7 separate regions of the Homo sapiens genome follow, and regions 1, 3, 4, 5, 6 and 7 are each linked to region 2. Evidence: promoter capture Hi-C in 16 types of primary human blood cells and fetal thymus (Javierre and others, 2016). All regions are on one chromosome and are shown on one strand. Each heading gives the region's core, a stretch centred on a gene start or on the middle of the fragment in contact. The rest is flanking DNA. Distances are from core to core; before and after follow the strand shown.

Region 1 (3,060 bases), core at 426-2,925, 370 kb after region 2:
GTGGTGGCGATAGAGTCAGATCTGCTGGAACTTATAGGGCCCTCTGGTCCCACACGAAACAGAAAAAATGGCTGTGCTCATGCGGGTCTTACTGCCGCTGTTTATCATCCTCTGTATTTAATGGTAAACTGTTATCTCAGAGCGCTTTGCACACCCTACTTCTTTTTCTTTAATTTTTTTATTTTTATTTTTTTTGTGGGCACATAGTAGTTGTATATATTTATGGGGTACATGAGATGTTTTGATACAGGCTTGCAATGTGAACTAAGCACATTATGCGGAATGGGGTATCCATCCCCTCAAGTATTTATCCTTTGAGTTACAAGCAATTCAATTACACTCTTCAAATTATTTCAGAAAGTACAATGAAGTTACTATTGACCATAGTCACCCTATATGCTATCAAATAGTAGGTCTTAGTCATTCTTTCTAATTTTTTTTGTACCCATTAACCATCCCCATTTCCTCCACACCCTCCCACTATCCTTCCCAGCCTCTGGTAACCATTCTTCTACTCTCTGTGTCCATGAGTTCAATTGTTTTGATTTTTAGATCCCACAAATAAGTGAGAACATGTGATGTTTGTCTTTCTGTGCCTAGCTTATTTCATTTAACATAATGATCTCCAGTTCTATCCATGTTGTTGCAAATTACTGGATCTCATTCTTTTTATGGCTGAATAGTACTCCATTGTGTATATGTACCACATTTTCTTTATCCTTTCGTCTGTTGATAGACACGTAGGTTGCTTCCAAATCTTAGCTATTGTAAACAGTGCTGCAACAAACATAGGAGTGCAGATATCACTTCCATATACTGATTTACTTTCTTTGGGTATATACCCAGCAGTGGGATTGCTGGATCATAAGGTAGCTCAATTTTTAGTTTTTTGAGGAACCTCCAAACTGTTCTCCATAGTGGTTGTACTAATTTACATTCCCACTCACAGTGTACAAGGGTTCCGTTTTCTCTGCATCCTCACCAGCATTTGCTGTTGCCTGTCTTTTGGATATAAGCCATTTTTAACTGGCTTGAGATTATATCTCATTGCATATATAAATGCAAATCATTGTAGTTTTGATTTGCATTTCTCTGATGATCAATTGTGTTGAGCACCTTTTCATATGCCTGTTTGCCATTTGTATGTCTTCTTTCAAGAAATGTCTATTCAAATCTTTTGCCTATTTTTGATTGGAATATTAGACTTTTTCCTATAGAATTGTTTGAGCTCCTTATATATGCTGGTCATTAGGTTGGTGCAAAAGTAATTGCGGTTTTTACCATTGAAAGTAACGGTGAAGACCGCAATTACTTTTACACCAACCTATAACCCCTTGTCAGATGGATAGTTTGGAAATACTTTATCTCATTCTGTGGGCTGGCTCTTCACTTTGTTGATTGTATTCTTTGCTCTACAGAAAATTTTTAACATGATGTGTGCATCCTTCTTTTAATGCTCTTGAATCTGTCATGTCCTGGAAGACTAGGTAGCCAGGCTCACTGGATGTGTGTGTAGGATTTGAGAAGAGACTTGAGAGGCAGAAGGTCATAGTGATTGAAAACAATTATTTGGAATCTAGGTTTAGGTAAATGTGTCCCTGGAAACACTTTTTTTTTTTTGAGATGGAGTCTTGTTTTGTCCCCCAGGCTGGAGTGCAGTGGCATGATCTCGGCTCACCACAACTTCCATCTCCCAGGTTCAAGCAATTCTTCTGCCTCAGCCTCCCTAGTAGTTGGGATTACAGGCGCATGCTGCCATATCAGGCTAATTTTTTGTATTTTAGTAGAGATGGGGTTTCACTGTGTTGCCCAGGTTGGTATCGAACTCCTGAGCTCAGGCAATCTGCCTGCCTCAGCCTCCCAAAGTGCTAAGATTACAGGCGTTGGAAACACCTTTGTCTGTAACATCCTAATAATAATTGTGCTTCTCTCTAGGGTTGTAAGGATTAAATAAGTTAGTGTGTTAAAACATTTAAAACAGCCCTGGAACTTATCAGATTTTATTATTCTAGAGCAATTTCTATGAACTATGTAAATACTAGTGATTATCAGTTTGAGTGCTGTTTACAAGCTGCATAAATATTAGCTATCATTATTTTTTATGATGTCTTTGAATTAAGAATTCCCTCAACTTTTTTCCCCTTATTTTTTCTCTTTCTAAATCTTGGTCTAATTTTATGACTTTTAATAAGATACTGTCATGTTTGTTGCCTCCTGCCTCCAACTTAGACCCTGTACTTTCTTATTAAATTTATTTCTGAGTATTTTGTAATTTTTTAAAATTTCATTTCTGCCTGTAATTGGATATTTCTGGTTGAAGAAAAACTTGCTTTTGACTATTTACTTTTTAATTTATTCATACTACCAAACTTTCAAGGTAATTTTAATGTTGTTTTTAGCAAACTCTGGAGTTATTTAGTTATACTATCATATCATCTACAAATAAACATAAGTTAGTCTTTTCTTTTCAATATGTATAATGATTATTTCATTTCCTTGAATTATTGCATAAATTTGAGCCTCCAAATTAATGTTGACAAACAGCAGTAAAAGTAAAAATCCCTGTCTTGTTTCCAAATTTATTGGAATGGCTTCAGTATAGTCTCATGTTTGCTATTGGTATTTAGTAAATTATTTTCTTCATTCTTAAGTAGTTTTTTAAATCCCTTTTTTTAATTAAAAATTTTGTTAATAGTAGCTGCTTAATTTCATTAAATGCCTTTTTTTCTTTTGCTAATATAATTACATATTTTTCCTTTAATTTTTCATGCAATGAATTATTGACATCCTTAGTACACAGTTTTTATAACATGTAATTGGACTACTCAGATTTTGTAACTGACATCCTGGTTTTAGGTTGTATTTTGGATAGATTAGGCTGTTAGATAATTTCTGGATCCATTTAACATCTTATTATAGAAAAATGAGTTGGGGTAAGGGAGACACAAGACCAAGCACTATCTTAATAATAGTTTCTTGTCATATTTTAGGCCACTAAAATGGCAATATAATTTTTTTTTGCCCTCTAGGGATTTAAATTTCAAATTAGAGGTAGCACAA
Region 2 (2,916 bases), core at 327-2,826:
TGCTGGGCTGTAAAACAGGAACGCGGATTCTGCACTGAGTGGTATTGAACTGAACGCTCGTAAAGTTCATGGACATACTCTGACCCAGACAGACCAGGCAGATGCAGACATGCTTACGCATACACACTCACTAACACCCCACAGCTCAGAGGATCCATCTCTGTGACCCAAGGGAAGTTCAAGGCTGAATTTCCCCTTCATATATTTACCTCATTCACCTTTTAATTTTATATATACACACACTCACACATATACACGTATGTATGTGTGTATATGCGCATCTACATCTTCATATACACATACAGAACTATATATCTCAACATTTTCATGTATTTTCAAAGGTCTAAACATCCCCAAATTCTGGACCTGTTTCTGTCTAGTATTTTCAAAAGCTCTTATTCATGTCAAATAAGAATTGTAAGAAAATATCGTATTGAATTCTGTTTATTCCGCACATAATATAAACTACATGCATGTAGTTGGTCTCAGAAAAACAAGCTGCTTTTACCCCCTTACCATTAAGGGGGGAAAACAATCTAACCCAGACCGAGTCACAAACGGAGTGTCAGGTTTAACCTTGAGTTCTCTGCTGTCAATTCCTGACTCAACTTCATCACTTAAACACGCAGGTGCTCAAACAAACACCAACCGACCAGGCTGGCAATCCCTTTCGCAGCCTCTAGGATTCTCCAAGGCACTGGGCACCAGAACCGACAGCAGCTCCCGCCTGGTCCTAACGAAGTCCTTCGGACACCCCTTGCGGGTGGATGTGGAGGTCCGAGCACCTCAGGAGGGTCATGGATTCAAGTGCTAATAGAAAGCAATTACTTTAGAAAGTTCAAAGCCCAGCAGTGCTCTCAATTCCTCTCAGTAGCTGCAGAGCACTGAAGCCCCCGCTACAGAACCCGGCTGGTACTCCAGTTCTCTGGCGCTGAGACCCACCTTGAGCCCGATGAGCGCTCGCTCAGCCTTGAGATCCAGACGCGGACGCCGGGTCTTACCGTACCGCACAGCGCGGGTAATTTTTCAGGAACCGCGGTCCGCACGCCGCGGGCGCGGAGGCCGCCCCAGCGCTCCATGTCGTTGCCGCAGAGGGGCAGGGGACGCGTCCCGGCCCCACCTACCCATGTCAATTACGCCAAGTTGGTGCGGACTGGAACCGCGTCCCGGGCGGAGTTGGGATGCTTTGACAAGAAGAAGTTCGGGAGTGGGGATATTGGCACGGAGTAAATCCCGCCCAGCCCTGACCTCCCCACAGCGGTCACGCTCGGACGAACGGACCGCCGAGCGCCAGGACGCGTCCCGTCCCCTCTCGCCGCCGCCGAACCGCGCCGAGAGGAGCCGCTAGCCCGGCGCGCGGCCACTCACCGTCCTCGCCGAGTCCCGATAGCAAACCGACGTCCCTGCTGCGGTTCTAAGTGCCAAGTTGCCCCCAGTCGGTGGCTGCTCACGGCCCAGTGGACCAGGGCACATTGGTTCCGGCGGGCACCTCAGGGGGAGTGCGGCAAGCCTGGCGGCCGCCGCGGCCACACAGTCGCCCACAGCGCGCTGACAATTCACGGACCTGCTCAACGAGTGAGGCGGAAAGCAGGGCTAAGCCGACCAGGCTCTGGAGGGGAGGCGGGGCTGCCGCTAGGGGCGGAGCCAGCCCCGGGGCGTCATCAGCCCATGACTGGCGGAGCCGACAGCCAGTCGTGGTGGCGCTGGGACCGCCCCGTAACCGCCGTCCAGTCGCCTGCGGCCGAGGGCAGGCTGGCGGGACGCGCCGGCGGCGGGGAAGTTGGTTATTGCGAAGTGCCGTGGCTGCCGGCGGGCGCTGCGGGACTCTCTGCAATGGGACCCGAGCAGCTCTAGAGGGAGGCGGCGGCCCCAGAAGGCCGTTGGCTGAGAGAGACCAGGAGCCCTCGGAGCCGCCGCGCGCATAGCGCTGTGGAGCAAGAAGCCAACCGCAGCGCGGGTCGACACGCCAGTATCTGGCACCGGCAGGAGGCGCGGAACTTAGCTGCCCCATCGGAACCCCGCCCGGAGGAAGCTGAGGGCCGAGAAAGGATGAATTCCGGACCGGGTCGCCCAGCCACAAGTGGAAACCTGGGCTCTCTGGAAAACGTTCTGATCTCGATCTGGCTATCTCTGAAACAAAACTCCAGCCCCGCAAACCTCCCAAAGTTCAGTACACGTCCCCGTCCTCACCCCTGCCCTCCGGGCCACCTGCAGCGGGGGACTTACCGGCGCCTCGGGTCTCCTCCTCCCGACCCAGCGCGTCGCGGACACAGCTGGCGGCCAACAGGAGGCTTGGGCGCTCGACGGCGCCGGAACCTGTGAGACCGTCGCTCTGGGCGGGCTGCCGTGCGGGGTGGCATCCTCTGCGGTGACTTCTGCTGTCTTTTGGGTCCGCCAGGATTCCAAAATCCCAGGCGGGTCGCTAGAATTATCCATCTTCGTGGACAGGAAGCCCCAGAACGAACCACATCTGTCCCACTCTGCTTCCGCCCTCCTTCCCCTTCGCAAGCTCCTGGCTGGGATGGAGACATCGGACGAGCTCGGAGATCCCGACCTCTCAGGGGTCACTCGCAGCCGAACAGCCTGGAATATGGCCTTGTGGGCCCTTCCCGCCCAACCCCCTAGGACCCCACTGCTCATCTTGTCAACCAGTTTCTGAGCCCCTACCCTGGCTGCAGCACGTGCTCGCACAGGCGCGCTGAGCTACTAACATAGAATCAAAAGCAGGGAGTTGGGTGTTCTTGCTTTCCCGCTGAAACCTAGAATGTAAACAAGCCCTAGACCGTCAGCTGTGGGTGGGTAGGGGCCTCTCCCTGCCTAGAACTGCTCTTGCCATGGGTAGGCACCTAACCCGTATTAGTAAGAATGAAGGAATGCATGCTCATAACAAGAAAGGGGTCAACCTGCTGCCCTGAT
Region 3 (2,836 bases), core at 158-2,657, 420 kb after region 2:
AACCAGCGCTAGTGAAAGAAAAGTCATCTTGTTCTATCTTAGACCACTGTGAAGACTCCAGAAGATACGGCATCACTGTACTGGTCACATGTAAATGTCTCTGCTTTCTGGCTCAATGAGACCCAAGGGACTGAGTGTTAGGAACCTAGGATCTTCATTGGAAATTCTGGATCTTCTTGGTTTGTTCTCACTCAGGAATAATTCTGCATTTAACATCCCTTTAAAGTTGTTGCACAGAAAAAGTTCTTCACAAAGGACAGAGTCAGGCATGTTATGGATGATAAAGCTTACAGGTGCTTTAAATGATGGAATAGTTGTCGTCATGGTATCTGAAAGAGCCTTGAACTAGACACAAAAGACCCTGAGATATAGCACTGGGCCAGTCACTTACCCTCACTTACCCTTGATTCGTTCATTTGTGAAATGGGAGTAATAAGCATGTACTGGCTCGTTTTGTGAATTAAATTAAACCAAGCATTTGAAAGCCCTGCTCCAGGGATGGGTGTATATAGGAGTTTATAGGGAATCCTGACTGCTCCCTCATTAAAACAGCTCCCTGATCCTCCAAGGCAATGAAGACAGAATCTGGCAGGGGTGTCTGGCCTCATAGCCCCAGCTCTTATTCCCTAACTTACTATCTGCTCCATGCTGGTTCTCTCTTTCACACCTTGGTGGAAGGCTAGCCACTGCACAGCTAAGATTAAAATGGGCATTTAATAAGACTTTGCTACAGTCTGGAGATGGCCAAGAGTATTTGGCAAAGAGGAGCATAGACAGAGCTCCTTGATAAAGCTGTTCTCAGAGGCCACAGACTGTGCCCCATCTTCATGGGTCCTCTTTATAAAGTCTGGGAATTCCCAAGACCACCCTGACTTCTGACATCAGCTACAAGTTGAAAGATCACCAAGACGACCCTCAGGATCAACATTTTGCTACAAGGAGTCACTGAACTCACTGAATGGGCATTCTCATGGTTACAGTTTATGGGGGGCTCAGTCATATAGACATGATTGACTCCCATCATGTAGACATGATTGACCTTTAGTCTTTCCCCTTCCAGAGGTGGAGATGATACCATATGGCCCAAACCCCCCACCATAAATCACTTGGTTACACTATCCGGTGTATCCCTGGGCCTCCGGGTGAACAAAAGCACTCCTATTGGGCAGGACAGTCCAAGGACTTCAAGATCACCTCCCAGGAGCTGAGGGCAAAGGCCACCCCTTTCTTTGATAAGGTTAATTCTTCACTACACACCCATTTATGCTGCCTCCCTGCATAACCGTGTGCCCTTCCCCCCAGCTATGGGCTTGGTTAGACTCTTCACAACCCAGATGCAAGAGAGTGTGCCTGAGAGAGGAAAATATTCCCATTTCCTGTCCCACGATGATTGATATCTGACAGACCCTCTCCCTTTAGGAGAGGCTGCTTCCTTCTCCACAACAGTGTGTGCTTACTCAGTGATCCCCATGGGACACCAACATCAGAACTTGAGCTTAACATCTCTCTAAGAGATGCATGCACAGTGGCAAGGATATCGTTTCCTTAACATTCTCAAATACTTACCTGGAATGTTCATTGCTAGTTGTTACTTTACTCTCTGCTTTTAACCTAAGTCTGTAACATTCTTATTGTATTGTATTTCAAAAGATTAGTGATGAAGTTTTGCCATATTGCCCAGGCTGGTCTTGAACTCCTGGGCTCAAGCAATCCACCCACCTTGGCCTCCCAAAGTCCTGGGATTACAGGCATGAGCCACCGCACCCGGCCTGTAATATTCTTTTGAAAGGCAATTGAAAATGCCTTGGAGTGCTTAAGGAAAGACTGAAGCAGAGGGTAGTATAATGCACTGAGCGTTAGAGTAATTGACACACTTCATTTGTATGGTGCTTCAGAGTTTACAAAGCCTTTTCATATGCTCTGTTTCACTTAATGATGACAAAAACCCTGGAAGGCTGGAAGGCAAATTTTGTTTTCCCCATTTTAGAGATGAGAAAATTGACACTCAGAGGGTGGAACATCTTGCCCAAAGTCCTATGGCCAATAAGTTATAACATGTAATTCCTTTGTCTCCTAATCTATAGTTTTCTCCTTTTTTGTCACAACACAGCTCCAATAGAATAATTGACTCCCATGCAGTATTAACAATGCAATTTTGCACGTATACACCAGATAGTATAAAATGGGCTAGGTAATGTCGTCTTATTTTGTTTTTAGTAGTGCGAATTTGTGATTAAATGCTTATATTTTATACAACATGCTTGTGACCTGATTGATTTCTGTAAGTGGTTGCACGTTCTCTTGCCTACATGCTCAATTTTTCCAGCATGAGCCGGAACACTCCTATTTCCCTCCCCACACCCACGAAATAAAGGCTGGCCATTTTCCAATGAGAAAGCAGGTTTTTTTGTGTGTATCTAGGCTCATACACAATTATGTCCCCATACCTGGAAAAGTCAAATTATGAAAAGCTGAATAAAGAAGGGCAAGAGCTAGTATCACCTGTAAAGTATTAGTCAACAGTGTTCGAAGCTTCCAGTCTCCAGAAAACATGCTTATAGTGAAGACAATAATATAACCGAATAATGATTATTGGGAAAACTATTTGAAAACCATCAGAGCCTTGAAAGAGCTGCACGTAGGTATGAAATGTCAACTCTGGTCTTGGCTGTATCCTTTCTTTTCACTGTGCAACCTTGAATCAAGTATACTGATTTATCTCTGGGCCTCAGTTTCTATCCTGTTTTGACTAGCTTTTCCTGAGTCACTGTAAATGACTAGGTGAATGACCAAATGTGTGTGTGTTTAATTCTAGGCACTGGGGACATCTGGGACA
Region 4 (2,886 bases), core at 20-2,519, 500 kb after region 2:
CAGGTGTTTTTATTCTTCTTCTTCTTTTTTTTTTTTTTTTTTTTTTTGAGACAGAGTCTCACTCTGTCACTCAGACTGGAGTGCAGTGGCGTGATCTCAGCTCACTACAACCTCTGCCTCCTGGGTTCAAGTTATTCTTATGTCTCAGTCTTCTGAGTAGCTGGGACTACAGCCGTGTGCCACCACGCCCAGCTAATTTTTGGTAGAGACGGGGTTTCTCCATGTTGGCCAGGCTGGATAGCAGGCATTTTTCTACAAAGAAACAAGCTCAGTGACTTCCACAAGGTAAAGAAGCTAGTAAATGATAAAGGTAGAGCCATCAAGAAAAATGTGTAACACCGAAGGGGAAAAAAGAAAGGTACAGAAATGAAATTTCTATTATTAGCAAATGTCATAACTTTATCAGCTTTAAAAAGTAATAAAATCGAATTTAAGAAAGCTGACATCTTTACTGACAGCAAAGCATCACCATTCTGATCTAACAAAACAACTCAAAGTAAATCTTAAGGTTTTTTTTTTTGTTGTTTTTTTTTTGAGGTGGAGTCTCACTCTACCGCCAGGCTGGAGTGCAGTGGTGCAATCTCAGCTCACTGCAACCTCTGCCTCCTGAGTTCAAGCGATTCTCCTACCTCAGCCTCCTGAGTAGCTGGACCTACAGGTGCACGCCACCATGCCCAGCTAATTTTTGTATTTTTAGTAGAGATGGGGTTTCACCATGTTGGCCAGGATGATCTCGATCTCTTGACTTTTTGATCCTCCCGCCTAGGCCTCCCAAAGTGCTGGGATTACAGGCGTGAACCACCGCGCCCGGCCATCTTAAGGTATTTTTACACAAATATTCTAGAAATCATTTGATGTAACAATTTCGTATGTGTCAAGAAACTCAAAAAGTATTAGAAATGGCAGGACTACTCATCACAAGCTGAAAAGCCATTTTGAGCTGAAGCTTAATGGAGCAGTACTTAGCTAAGGTCGAGAGATGTGTCCCATGTGGAGGAAAAAAGTGAAAAAAAAAGTATATTCTTCTTCTCTTTTATGTCCTAGTAACTTCTGAAGTATCCAGTACAGATGTGATCTGTGAGACATTATGTCAGTCAGGAAAAAGGGATCCATTATTTTTAAAACCCAAATATTTGAAAATATCTTTCCCTGTTCCACATGATATTTATTAGGGAAAAACAACCTTGTTTCTAGGGCAAAATGTTTTACATTATAAACAATTTTCATGAAAAATCTCTTTTGCCGGTGATAACTATTAATGCCAAATATCAAAATGTGCTGTGTTTAGAACAAGGGCTTTGAATTCATTATATCACAGAAATGTTTGGTTAAGATTTTTAAAAATAATGAAACATTTGGTCAAATTGATCTGTCTAGAAATAGTAGTACTTAGGTTGTTTAAGTAATTGAAAAATTAAAAATATTTGAAAATATTTTTATTTCGTATTACTCTTAATATTTTAAATTTTAAGTTTTATGTGTTATTTCAATTTCATATATGCTTGCATATTTATATTAGGGCAGTAGTACATGTATAATTGATAAATATCTATTTGTGGTGTATGCTCAGAACATTGTGGGGATATTTAATAAAAAGCTTGATGACCCCATATTTAAACTATTTTCTAGGTTAAAAAGTATATTTCATGGTAGTGCTTGTTTAGTACATAACTTCTCTGCAACTCATTGACAAATCACTTACTATCAGTAAGTCTTTATTTTAATTTTCCGTGGAGTATACTAAATATGTAACTTACACTTCACAAGCCAGATATGTGATTTCTGGCTTGTGATATGTAATGTCAGTTTTGAGTCCTGACATTAGTGCTAAGTAGATACGTTACCTTGGGCAAAACTTTGTTGGCCTCAGTTTTCTCAAGCATATAAAAAAGATAATGATCTATATCTTGCATGGTTTTATGAAACTGGTAATAATTATGTATATTAGATGTTAGCACCTGGTATGGTAGTAATTATGAGAATTTCATTATTTTAATTTGAAAGTTAAATTTTCCTCTGGTCTTTTTAGAATCTGGAGGTGAACTGGATATTGTAGTGACCTCAAATAAAGAAGTAAAAGTTGCTGCTGTCCGAGATGCCTTCCAGGAGGTCTTTGGCTTAGCTGTGGTTGTAGGGGAAGCTGGACAGTCCAATATTGCCCCACAACCAGTGGGCTATGCAGCTGGATTAAAAGTGAGTAACAGAACACCATTTTCAGGACATGGAAACTGGCATTTAATTTTTTCACAATTCTGATAATCTGTTGTCTCTATGGAGCTAATAGACTTTTACATACTGAAATAACAATGAACTTTGCTTTTAGTAGACAGCCCTATCGTATTATGAAGATATAGTGGAGTTTTAATTTAAAGAAATTTAAGATAGGTTTTGATTATTGTGGGAGGGAAAGAAACATTGAGAGAGCACAAAAGGAATAGTTAGTCCTAAAAGAGATCTTCTTAATCCAGCATTAACATTCAAATCAATTACTGAGATGATAATATCCCTTGAATCCCATAAGCTTTTATTATCCCTATTGATAATGCTTAAAAATATGTAAGTTCCAGGAATTCCGTCCTCTCTTTCATACTTTATTTTCCTCTCTTTGTGTTATTACCAGCATACAGTCATGCAAGAACAAATTAACAGTTCATTGGCATACAAACATCTTTCTCACCTTGAAAAAAAAAGAAAAAACCAAAGGAAACCCCAACAAATTCTTTGACCTCCCTTCCTCTATAACTTAATGACCTATTTTGCTTCCTTTTGCAGCTAAACTCCAAGGAGTTGGCAGCACTTTTCTCATATCCTTTTCACATTCAGTTAAGTCTACCTCAGTTAGGCTTTGATGTCCAGCACTCTACTGATAGTGCTTTCAGGCTCGTG
Region 5 (2,700 bases), core at 110-2,609, 440 kb after region 2:
GACAGGCTCTGAAATGTTGGACTTCAGGAACGATGCATTATTTATAAAGTGGAGAAAGGGAGAAAACAGTGCAAGAAAAAAGATACAGAGGCTTACAATATTGCTCTTTTCCCTCTTAGAGAAAAGTATAAGATGATTGCCAATGAATACCCTTAAACCCAGAGTGAGGAACCATGTATATTAATTAATAGAAAAATGCCTTTTTGTTGTTAAAAGAGCATTTTTCCTTTGGTGAGAAAACTCACTTCTCTTTGACATCAGCACATGGTACATGTAAGATAGGTTCCCACTGAAAGTTTTTGATGGCGTGAGCCAATATAAAAACATTATGTAACTCACTAAATGTTTTAGACACTTTTAAGACAAAAATCAGTATTAAATATCATAAATATTAAGAAGCCACATTGCCATTAAGTGAAAGCTTAAAGACTAAGCACAATCTATTAAAACACTGTCATGCAACTTTACATACAGGCATATACCTCAGATATATTGCAGGTCCCAGATCACTGCAATAAAGATACTATCATAATAAAGTGAGTCACACAAATGTTTTGGTTTTCCAGTGTATATTAAAGTTATGTTTACACAATACTATAGCCTATTAAGTGTGCATTATGTGCATTATAGCATTATATCTAAAAATGAACATAATTAAAAATACTTTATTGCTAAAAACTGCTGAGCCTTCGACAAATCATCTTTTCGGTAGTTTACGATCTTACCTTAATGTGGATGGTAGCTGACTTATCAGGGTGGTTGTTGCTGAAGGTTGAAGTGGCTGAGATGTTTTCTAAATATAAGACAACAATGAAATCTGTTGCATTGATTGACTCTTCCTTTCATGCAAGATTTCTCTGTAGCATGTGATGCTGCTTGATAGCATTTTACCCATAGTAGAACTTCTTTCAAAAATTGGGGTCAATCTTCTCAAACTCTGCCACTTCTTTAAGAATAAATTTATATAATATTCTAAATCCTTTATTGTCATTTCAACAATGGTCACAGCATCTTTATGAGTAGATTTCTTCTCAAGAAATCACTTTCTTTGCTCATCCATAAAAAGTAACTCCTTACATGCTATAACATTAGATTGCAGCAATTCAGTGACGTCTTCAGTTCTAATTCTAGTTCTCTTGCTATATCTATGACATCTGTAGCTACTTCCTTCCCTGAAGTCTTAAACCTCTCAAAGTCATCCATGAGGACTGAAATCAACTTCCTCCAAACTACTATTAATGTTAGTATTTTCACCTCCTCCCATGAATCACAATTGTTCTTCATGGCATCTAGAATGACGAATCTTTTCCAGGCAGCTATAACTCTATAATACATTTTTTTAAATAAAAAGACTTGAAGTTGGACTTGATCATTGACCCATAGACTACAGAATGGATATTGTACCAGCAGCCATGAAAACAACATTAATATCCTTGTACATCTCTGTCAGAACTCTTGGGTGACTAGGTACATTGTCAGTGAGCAGTAATATTTTGAAAGGAATATTATTTTATGAGCAGTAGGTCTTAGTGGTGGAATTAAAATATTCAGTAAACCATACTGTAAACAGATACGCCATCATCCAGGTTTTGCTGTTACATTTATAGAGCACAGGAGGACTAGATTTAGCATAATTCTTAAAGGTACTAGGATTTGCAGAATAGTAGATGAGCATTGGCTTTAACTTAAAGTCACCAGCTGCATTAGCCCCTAACCAGAGTCAGCCTGTCCTTTGAAAACTTGAAGCCAGACACTGATGTTCCCTTTCTAGCTATAAAAGTCCTAGATGCATCTTCTTTCAATACAAGTCTGTTTCACTGACACTGAAAATCTGTTGTTTAGTGTATTTATCTTTATCAGTGATCTTAGCTAGACCTTCTGGATAACTTGCTGCAGCTTCTACGTCAGCACTTCTTGCTTCACCCTGCCCTTATGTGTTATGGAGATGGTTTCTTTCCCCTAAGCCTCATGAACGGACCTCTGTTAGCTTCAACTTTTGGTCTGCAGCTTTCTCACCTCTCTCAGCCTTCACAGAACTAAAGAGAGTTAGGGACTTGCTCTGGATTAGGCTTTGGCTTAAAGGAATGTTGTAGCTGGTTTGATCTTCTACCCAGACCACTCAAACTTTCTCTCTCCTAGCAATAAGACTCTTTCACTTTTTAAATCACTCATGTGTTCACTGGAGTAGCACGTTTAATTTCTTTCAAGGACTTTCCTTTGCATTCCCAACTTGGCTAACTGTTTGGCACAAGAGGCCTAGCTTTCAGCCTATTTTGGCTTTCAACACACCTTCCTCACTAAGCTTAATCATTTCTAGCTTTTAATTTAAAGCAAGAGACATGCAACTCCTCCTTTCACTTGAACACTTACAAGCGTTGTGGGATTATTAATTGGCCTAATTAAATATTGTTGTGTCTCAGGGAATAGGGAGGCTCAGGGAGAGGGAGAAAATCAAGGGAACTGCCAGTTGTAGCAGTTCGAACACATACAACATTCATTGATTAAGTTCATCATCTATCCACATAGTTTGTGGTGCCCCAAAACAATTACAATAGTAATATCAAAGGTCACTGATCACGGATCACCATAACAGATATAATTATAATAAAAAATTTGAAATATTGCAAGAATATCCAAAATGTGACACAGTTATAAAGTGAGAACACGCTGTTGGAAAATGGCACCAATAGACTTGCGCAA
Region 6 (3,048 bases), core at 363-2,862, 400 kb after region 2:
TGCTGACTCATTTTTTACTGATGACAGAGTAAATAAAAGGGCTTGAATTTTTAAGAGGGTGTTGGTAATAGAATTTTTATAATTTATATTCAAAGGAAACATTTCTTTGCAATTCTAAACTAAAAGTTATTTTCAAGTAAGCTTGGGTCTGTTGAAAGATGCTTATATGATTGGACACAGAAGGTTTGATCAATGATCTATAGAATTTGCTATGATTCTCTGGAAATGAAATGATGGGTAAACCATATGAAACAAGCTTATCTCTGCAGTGGATCTTCTTGCTATAGGGTGGGCCTTGTTACTTATACAAACATTACCAGGATATAGTTGATTATGACTGATGGCTAGGCTAATCAGCTGAACAAACCTCTTAAGGGAAGAAGAATAAGTTATGAAAGAGAGGATCTCTTTATTCAGATTTGCCTATCTGGCCTGTAGTCATTTTTCTTACCATGCTCTGATTGAGAATAGGCTAAGCTATACATAAATCATGATAACCTATGATATAAAAAAGCAGCAAATACTTTTGACCTAAAGTGTACTCCATTCCATCTTAACTGAATTTATTAAGTGCAATTTGAAGTAGTGATTTGGCAAGTAGTTGATAAACTAAGTCATCATAAATGGCTAAATCTTACCTGTCCCCCAAGTCCCCACCCTAACAAAAAAGCATAAAAAATCGGGACTGCTTTTTCAGGATGATGATCAGTCAGATTAACAGGATAATTACTCAGTTTCCACTTCTTCAAAATCTTCGTTGGGATTTGTCTTGATGGCATCAGACCAAAATGCCCTGGGTTGATTGTCTAAGTCTCTGTGATAAGCAGGTGTCCCCATCTTAGCTGTTGTTAAGCAGGAGTCTTGGCTCACGGTCAGAGTCTAGGACCTGAATTTGAACTGAGAGCGAAGTGTTTAGCAGGTTACCCTTGTTGGTACTTTCTTTAAATTCTCAAAACAAAGTTTAGGTTTGCAGCCTCATTTTGAAGTGGTTTACTGCTTAATATGTTTGATGCTTCTGCCCAGTATAGGTGTGGATATAAATTCCAGGTAAGATTCTGTGGCTGATGTATCACATCTGGTGAGGGTAGAGTTTGCAATTTCATCTCAGATTTTCAAAAGAGATTTGAAAAAAAAATAATATATTTATGATTGCAAGAAAAAAATCAACATAGTAGGCCCAGATTTCATACTTTATTCTATGGGAAACATTTAAACCCCAATTGGTTTATGAACAGACCTGGTCTCCTTTCTTCAGCCCATGGTCCGAATGAAATAAAAGTCTATTGTTGGGTCAAGCTAGACACAATGAGGTCTGCATGCTTTCTTGCCTATTTAATGGCCTTTACCACGTGGGAGACTTTCAGAAGGAAAAAAACAGGAACAGTAAAAAGTGGATCTTCTTGCTATTCCAGTGTTCACCGGAAATGGTGTACCAATTAACAACATTCACATTATAGTTTGGGACTGCTTCCATGTTAAGGTTCAGACTGTGGTGACTTTTTGCCTGATTACTTTAGAAGCCAAAACTGTAACACAAGACATGACCGTCTCAGCATCGTGGTACTGGGTGGTTGTTAGTATTCTGGAATCCTGGAGGGTCTGCGTGCTTGCTCTTAATGTGTTTTCATTTGGTCTGAGGCCAGCAACTGCCAGTTCACTACTAATTATAACTTATTGCCTTTCAATGTGAAGAACATTTCTTTGAGTTGTGAGGAATTCTGGCAAGAAAGAGGCCCCTGTTGTATTTCCAATACGAATGTACAGAAGAGACTTTTATTTATCTCAAATAAAACCTGGTTTTAGTTTTATTTTTGCAAACTTAGCTTTCCTTTCTGTTTCCTTTTGTCATTTTTTTTAATTCTAAAGTTTCTCAGTATTTAAAATTAGAGTTAAACAACTGCATACAGTTTCATAATAATCGATAGCATAGACAACAGCTACAAATAATGTCAGTTGTGATATTCTGCCAATATCTCTCCAATGTCAGGTAAGATTTTTAAGGAGGAATTTGGTGGCACGTGTCAGTGCATCTTTCTGTTCTGCACAATGCACCATCAAGTTATTTTAAGATTATGTTTATTTGTTTCATCCAGGGGAGGGTTTTCTTTATGTAAAACATTTTATGGAACTGTTCATTGCCTTATCCTTTTACACTTTATTTCTCTGTGAAAACAAAGAATGGGAGGAGGAGGAGGAAGTCACCAAGGGCTAAAAGATATCGTATTGTTGATAAATTTTACTTGCAATAGACAGAGCCCTTGGGCTTCCACTTTATTGCCTCCTCCTGAAGAAGAAAAATCAATATAACAAAAGTTTGTTATTCGTTCTTCATGACTCCATAGAAAATCGGTCTGGGTATTATTTTAATGTTATGATACTGTGTATTGATGTTTATAAGATGGTAACTCTCCATTCATTGCTGCTGGTGATCCTCAGGTTTAACACTGTGAGCTTAGTCCTCATCTATGAATTAGCATCTGCGGAAACTCCGCACTGCCTCTCACTCAGCCTTGCCCCATGTGCATTATTTCAGGTGTCCACTGTGACAGCGTGTGTGCTGAGGGACGCTGGGGCCCCAACTGCTCCCTGCCCTGCTACTGTAAAAATGGGGCTTCATGCTCCCCTGATGATGGCATCTGCGAGTGTGCACCAGGCTTCCGAGGCACCACTTGTCAGAGGAGTAAGTGTCTCATTAGGCAGTAATTTCCACCTTCCCTTCCCTGGGCACCATGTATCGAATAATGATCTCTGTCCCACCTCTCAGTTTATAGTGATGTCCTGTTGCAGTTGAAGGCAAAAGAGAGTGTAATGGTTCACTTGTCCTTTGCAGAACTGTGTTCCCTAAGAGCTTCATTCTTTCCAGCCTTCAGAACTAACCTAACAGATGGGGATTTAACCATTTCTTCTCAATAATTACTTCATTGCCTCATTGGCACAACCATCAGGATATATTTCTTCACCCTTCCTGAAAGCTTTGGAATGGTGTTCTAGAAATTCACTGACCTGTAAATATGTTATTCAGCAGTTTGGCATTGGCCTTACCTCAAT
Region 7 (2,985 bases), core at 363-2,862, 470 kb after region 2:
AGACTATTTTCCAGTGATAGAAAAAATGAGCCATCATGTCATGAAAAGACATAGAGAAACATGAAATGCATATTACCAAGTAAAGGAAAGCAGCCTGAAAAGACTACACAGCATATAATGCCAAGTATATGACATTCTGGAAAAGGCGAAACTATGGAGACAATAAAAAGAGCAGTGGTTTCCAGGCATTCAAAGTGAGGGAAGGAGGAATGAATGGTTGGAATATAGGGAAATTTGGGGCAGTGAAACTATTTTGTACCATATTATAATGGTGGATATATGAATCATACCTTTGCAAAAGCCCATAGAACTGTACAACACACAGAGTGAACCTTAATGTAAACTATGCATTTTAGTTAATAATAATGCATCAATATTCGTTCATTAATTGTAACAAATTTACTACACTAATGCACGATGTTAATAAAATGAGAAACTGTGATTGGGGTGATAAATAGAAACCCTCTGTATCTTCTGCTTATTTTTTCTGTAAACCTAAAATGGCTCTAAAAAATAAAGTTGATTAATTAAATAAGCAAGAGAGAGAGGGTTTTGGAGCCTAACAAAGATTCAAATCCTGGTTCTCTCACTTATAATTTGTGTGGGCTTCTGTCCTGACATTTTAGAAACTGATTTTTTTTTCTCATCAGAAAATAAAGATAAAAATATTTACCTCCTAGAATTATTTTGGATTTGAGTGAGCTAATACATGAGAAGCTCCAGAGAGAGCCTGGTACACAGTAGACATTCAGCATTTATTAACTCTTCTAGCTTTCCCTTTCTTTATGAACATTACTACTTGATAGTTACTAAACAATGTAGGAGAAGATGGGCAAGAAATCACCAGGAGCAGTAGCAGAAGCAAAAGTGTAGTTGAAGATGCCAGAGATGATCTAACAAAGAGATCAACTTTTGAGGCTGCATAACATAAAAAGCATTCCTGTCGAGAGACTACTGTGAATAAGAGAATATATTAAGCAAATGAGGCACTGAACTGGATTGAAATTTATACACTATGTGGCATTTGAAAATGAGCAGTAAGCTGTCTTGTGAACTGACACTTCATCTTTGAATATTCCACTCTGTGAGAATGCTTATGCAGTGCTGCCCAACAGAATGTTGTAAAATGATGGAAATGTTTTTGTCCACTGTCAAATATAGTAGGCATTCACCAAATGTAGCTAATTAGCACTTGAAATGTGGCTAGTATGACTGAAGAACAAATTTATTTTATTTTATTATGTTTCAATTTAAATTTAAGTAGTCATATGGGGCTGGTGGCTGTCAAATTGGACAGTTTAGACAATCTTCAAAAAAATGATAAGCACATAGCAAGGAAAATTAGAAAATAATTTGACATGAATGAAAATGAAGACACAACATAATGAAACTCACAGGATGTAGCTAAAGCAGTGCTTAAAAGGAAATGTATAGCTGTAAATACCTATATTAAGAAAGAAGAAAGACCTCAAATCAACAGCTTAACATTTCACCTAAGACAGTAGAAAAGAAAACTAAATGCAATGCAAACAAGGAAGAAAATTAGGATTCGAGCAGAAATTAATGAAACAGGGCCTAGAAAAACCATGAAGAAAATCAACAAAACCAGAACTTTGTTTTTTGAAAGAATAGACAAAATTGACAAACCTCAGCTAAACTGACCAAAGAAAAACAGAGGAGACTTAACTTACTAAAATCAGAAATGAAGCAGAGGACATTACCTTGCATAAATAAAAAGGATTATGAAGGAATACTATGAACAGATAATAACAAGTGTTAACAAGGATTTGGAGTAATTGGAACTCTCATATTGCTGGTGGAAACATAAAACATTGCAGCCATTTATGAAAACAGACCAACAGTTGCTCAAAAGATTTAACACTGAGTTACTCTATGATCCAGCAATTAGACTCTGAAGTGTATACACAAGAGAAATGAAAACACATGTCCACATAAAAACTTGTACATGAATGTTCACAACACCCTTATTCATAATAACCAAAAAGCGGAAACAACCCAAATGCCCATCAATTGATGAATGGATGAATAAAATGTGTGTCATTCATACAGTAGGATATTTTTCATCAATAATAAGAAATAAAGTACTGATACATGAATAAATTTTGAAAATATGTTAAGTGAAAGACACCAGTCATAAAGGGCCCCATATTGTCTGATTCCATTCATTTCAAATAGGTAAATTGGAAAGGCAAATCTGTAGCAATGGAAAGCAGATTAATAGTTGCCTAGCACTAGGGGTGAGGTCTGCTAGGGGTATGGGCAGGTCATCACCTGCCCATGACTAAGGGGAATAGAGATTCCTTTTGGGGTGGTGAGAATGTTCTAAAATTGATTACGGTGATGGATACACAGCTCTGTGAATATACTAAAGCCATTGGATTGTATACTTTAAATGGATGAGTTGTATGTCAACTATACCTCTTATAGCTGTAATTAAAAAAAAACAAGCAAAGTGGAGGGAGCAATACTTCAGGCACTAACAATTTACAAAATTGTAGCTTCAGCAGTGGTTGTTCTTTGTTTCCGGGGTTCCTAGAAAACCCAACACCATGTGTTCATAACAAAGTTTCCAGGTTTCCTTGGGCCAGCCCAATCCCACCTTATTAATTTCCTGCTAACCTTCAACCTAATCTCACCCTCAACAATGCAAGCATACAGGAATTGAACCTGCATATGGAGTCTCATGAAACAATCAATAATTTTTTCATTTTGAGGAAAAAATTTTCTATTTTCTATTGCTGAAATTAAATTTACATTGCTTAATGTTTTGTCAAATTTGGATTTGATGACCATAATAACATGGTATTACAGTTGAAGTTTTGATTTGATCATTATTCTTCCAAAGATAACATGGATGCAAAATTTCATTTCTTAAATTTGTTTTGACTTTTAAAAATGCTTACACAGTTAAGATTTTATGTTAGAATTTTGTACAAGTAGGATTTTTTACTGATTTTTAGTTGC

Evidence for each region. The method cuts DNA at HindIII sites, captures the fragments that hold promoters and counts their contacts. A CHiCAGO score of 5 or more calls a contact.
Region 1: a contact is called between a fragment that was not itself captured here and the fragment with the promoter of MARCHF3 in region 2, in 1 of 17 cell types (M2 macrophages). The highest score is 6.0, in M2 macrophages.
Region 3: a fragment that was not itself captured here is called in contact with the fragment with the promoter of MARCHF3 in region 2 in 1 of 17 cell types (megakaryocytes); the score reaches 5.8 in megakaryocytes.
Region 4: a contact is called between a fragment that was not itself captured here and the fragment with the promoter of MARCHF3 in region 2, in 2 of 17 cell types (erythroblasts and total B cells). The highest score is 6.0, in erythroblasts.
Region 5: a fragment that was not itself captured here is called in contact with the fragment with the promoter of MARCHF3 in region 2 in 1 of 17 cell types (naive B cells); the score reaches 6.0 in naive B cells.
Region 6: a contact is called between a fragment that was not itself captured here and the fragment with the promoter of MARCHF3 in region 2, in 3 of 17 cell types (M1 macrophages, M0 macrophages and M2 macrophages). The highest score is 8.2, in M1 macrophages.
Region 7: a contact is called between a fragment that was not itself captured here and the fragment with the promoter of MARCHF3 in region 2, in 3 of 17 cell types (erythroblasts, M1 macrophages and naive B cells). The highest score is 6.9, in erythroblasts.

What each region holds. Positions count from the first base shown.
Region 1 is chr5:127,403,114-127,406,173 of GRCh38, forward strand. The region is part of intron 8 of MEGF10 (multiple EGF like domains 10); the gene reads left to right. Among named protein-coding and RNA genes, the nearest start is that of PRRC1, 110 kb to the right of the region's middle. The HindIII fragment of the contact is 7,427 bases long and covers 1-3,060 here.
Region 2 is chr5:127,028,982-127,031,897 of GRCh38, forward strand. It overlaps MARCHF3 (membrane associated ring-CH-type finger 3), which reads right to left and starts at 1,577. Exons shown (of 5, transcript NM_178450.5): 1 at 1,369-1,577. It overlaps LOC105379163 (a long non-coding RNA gene), which reads left to right and starts at 2,362. Exons shown (of 2, transcript XR_007058920.1): 1 at 2,362-2,916. RefSeq lists a silencer at 1,539-1,918 and an enhancer at 1,915-2,459. The HindIII fragment of the contact is 7,560 bases long and covers 1-2,916 here.
Region 3 is chr5:127,451,587-127,454,422 of GRCh38, forward strand. All of the region lies in intron 22 of MEGF10 (multiple EGF like domains 10), which reads left to right. Among named protein-coding and RNA genes, the nearest start is that of PRRC1, 65 kb to the right of the region's middle. The HindIII fragment of the contact is 2,246 bases long and covers 285-2,530 here.
Region 4 is chr5:127,531,594-127,534,479 of GRCh38, forward strand. PRRC1 (proline rich coiled-coil 1) reads left to right here. Exons shown (of 9, transcript NM_130809.5): 6 at 2,030-2,193. Among named protein-coding and RNA genes, the nearest start is that of PRRC1, 15 kb to the left of the region's middle. The HindIII fragment of the contact is 651 bases long and covers 945-1,595 here.
Region 5 is chr5:127,470,195-127,472,894 of GRCh38, forward strand. No RefSeq gene overlaps it. Among named protein-coding and RNA genes, the nearest start is that of PRRC1, 46 kb to the right of the region's middle. The HindIII fragment of the contact is 1,881 bases long and covers 420-2,300 here.
Region 6 is chr5:127,430,830-127,433,877 of GRCh38, forward strand. It overlaps MEGF10 (multiple EGF like domains 10), which reads left to right. Exons shown (of 25, transcript NM_001256545.2): 14 at 2,534-2,680. Among named protein-coding and RNA genes, the nearest start is that of PRRC1, 85 kb to the right of the region's middle. The HindIII fragment of the contact is 2,716 bases long and covers 255-2,970 here.
Region 7 is chr5:127,497,723-127,500,707 of GRCh38, forward strand. No RefSeq gene overlaps it. Among named protein-coding and RNA genes, the nearest start is that of PRRC1, 18 kb to the right of the region's middle. The HindIII fragment of the contact is 4,735 bases long and covers 1-2,985 here.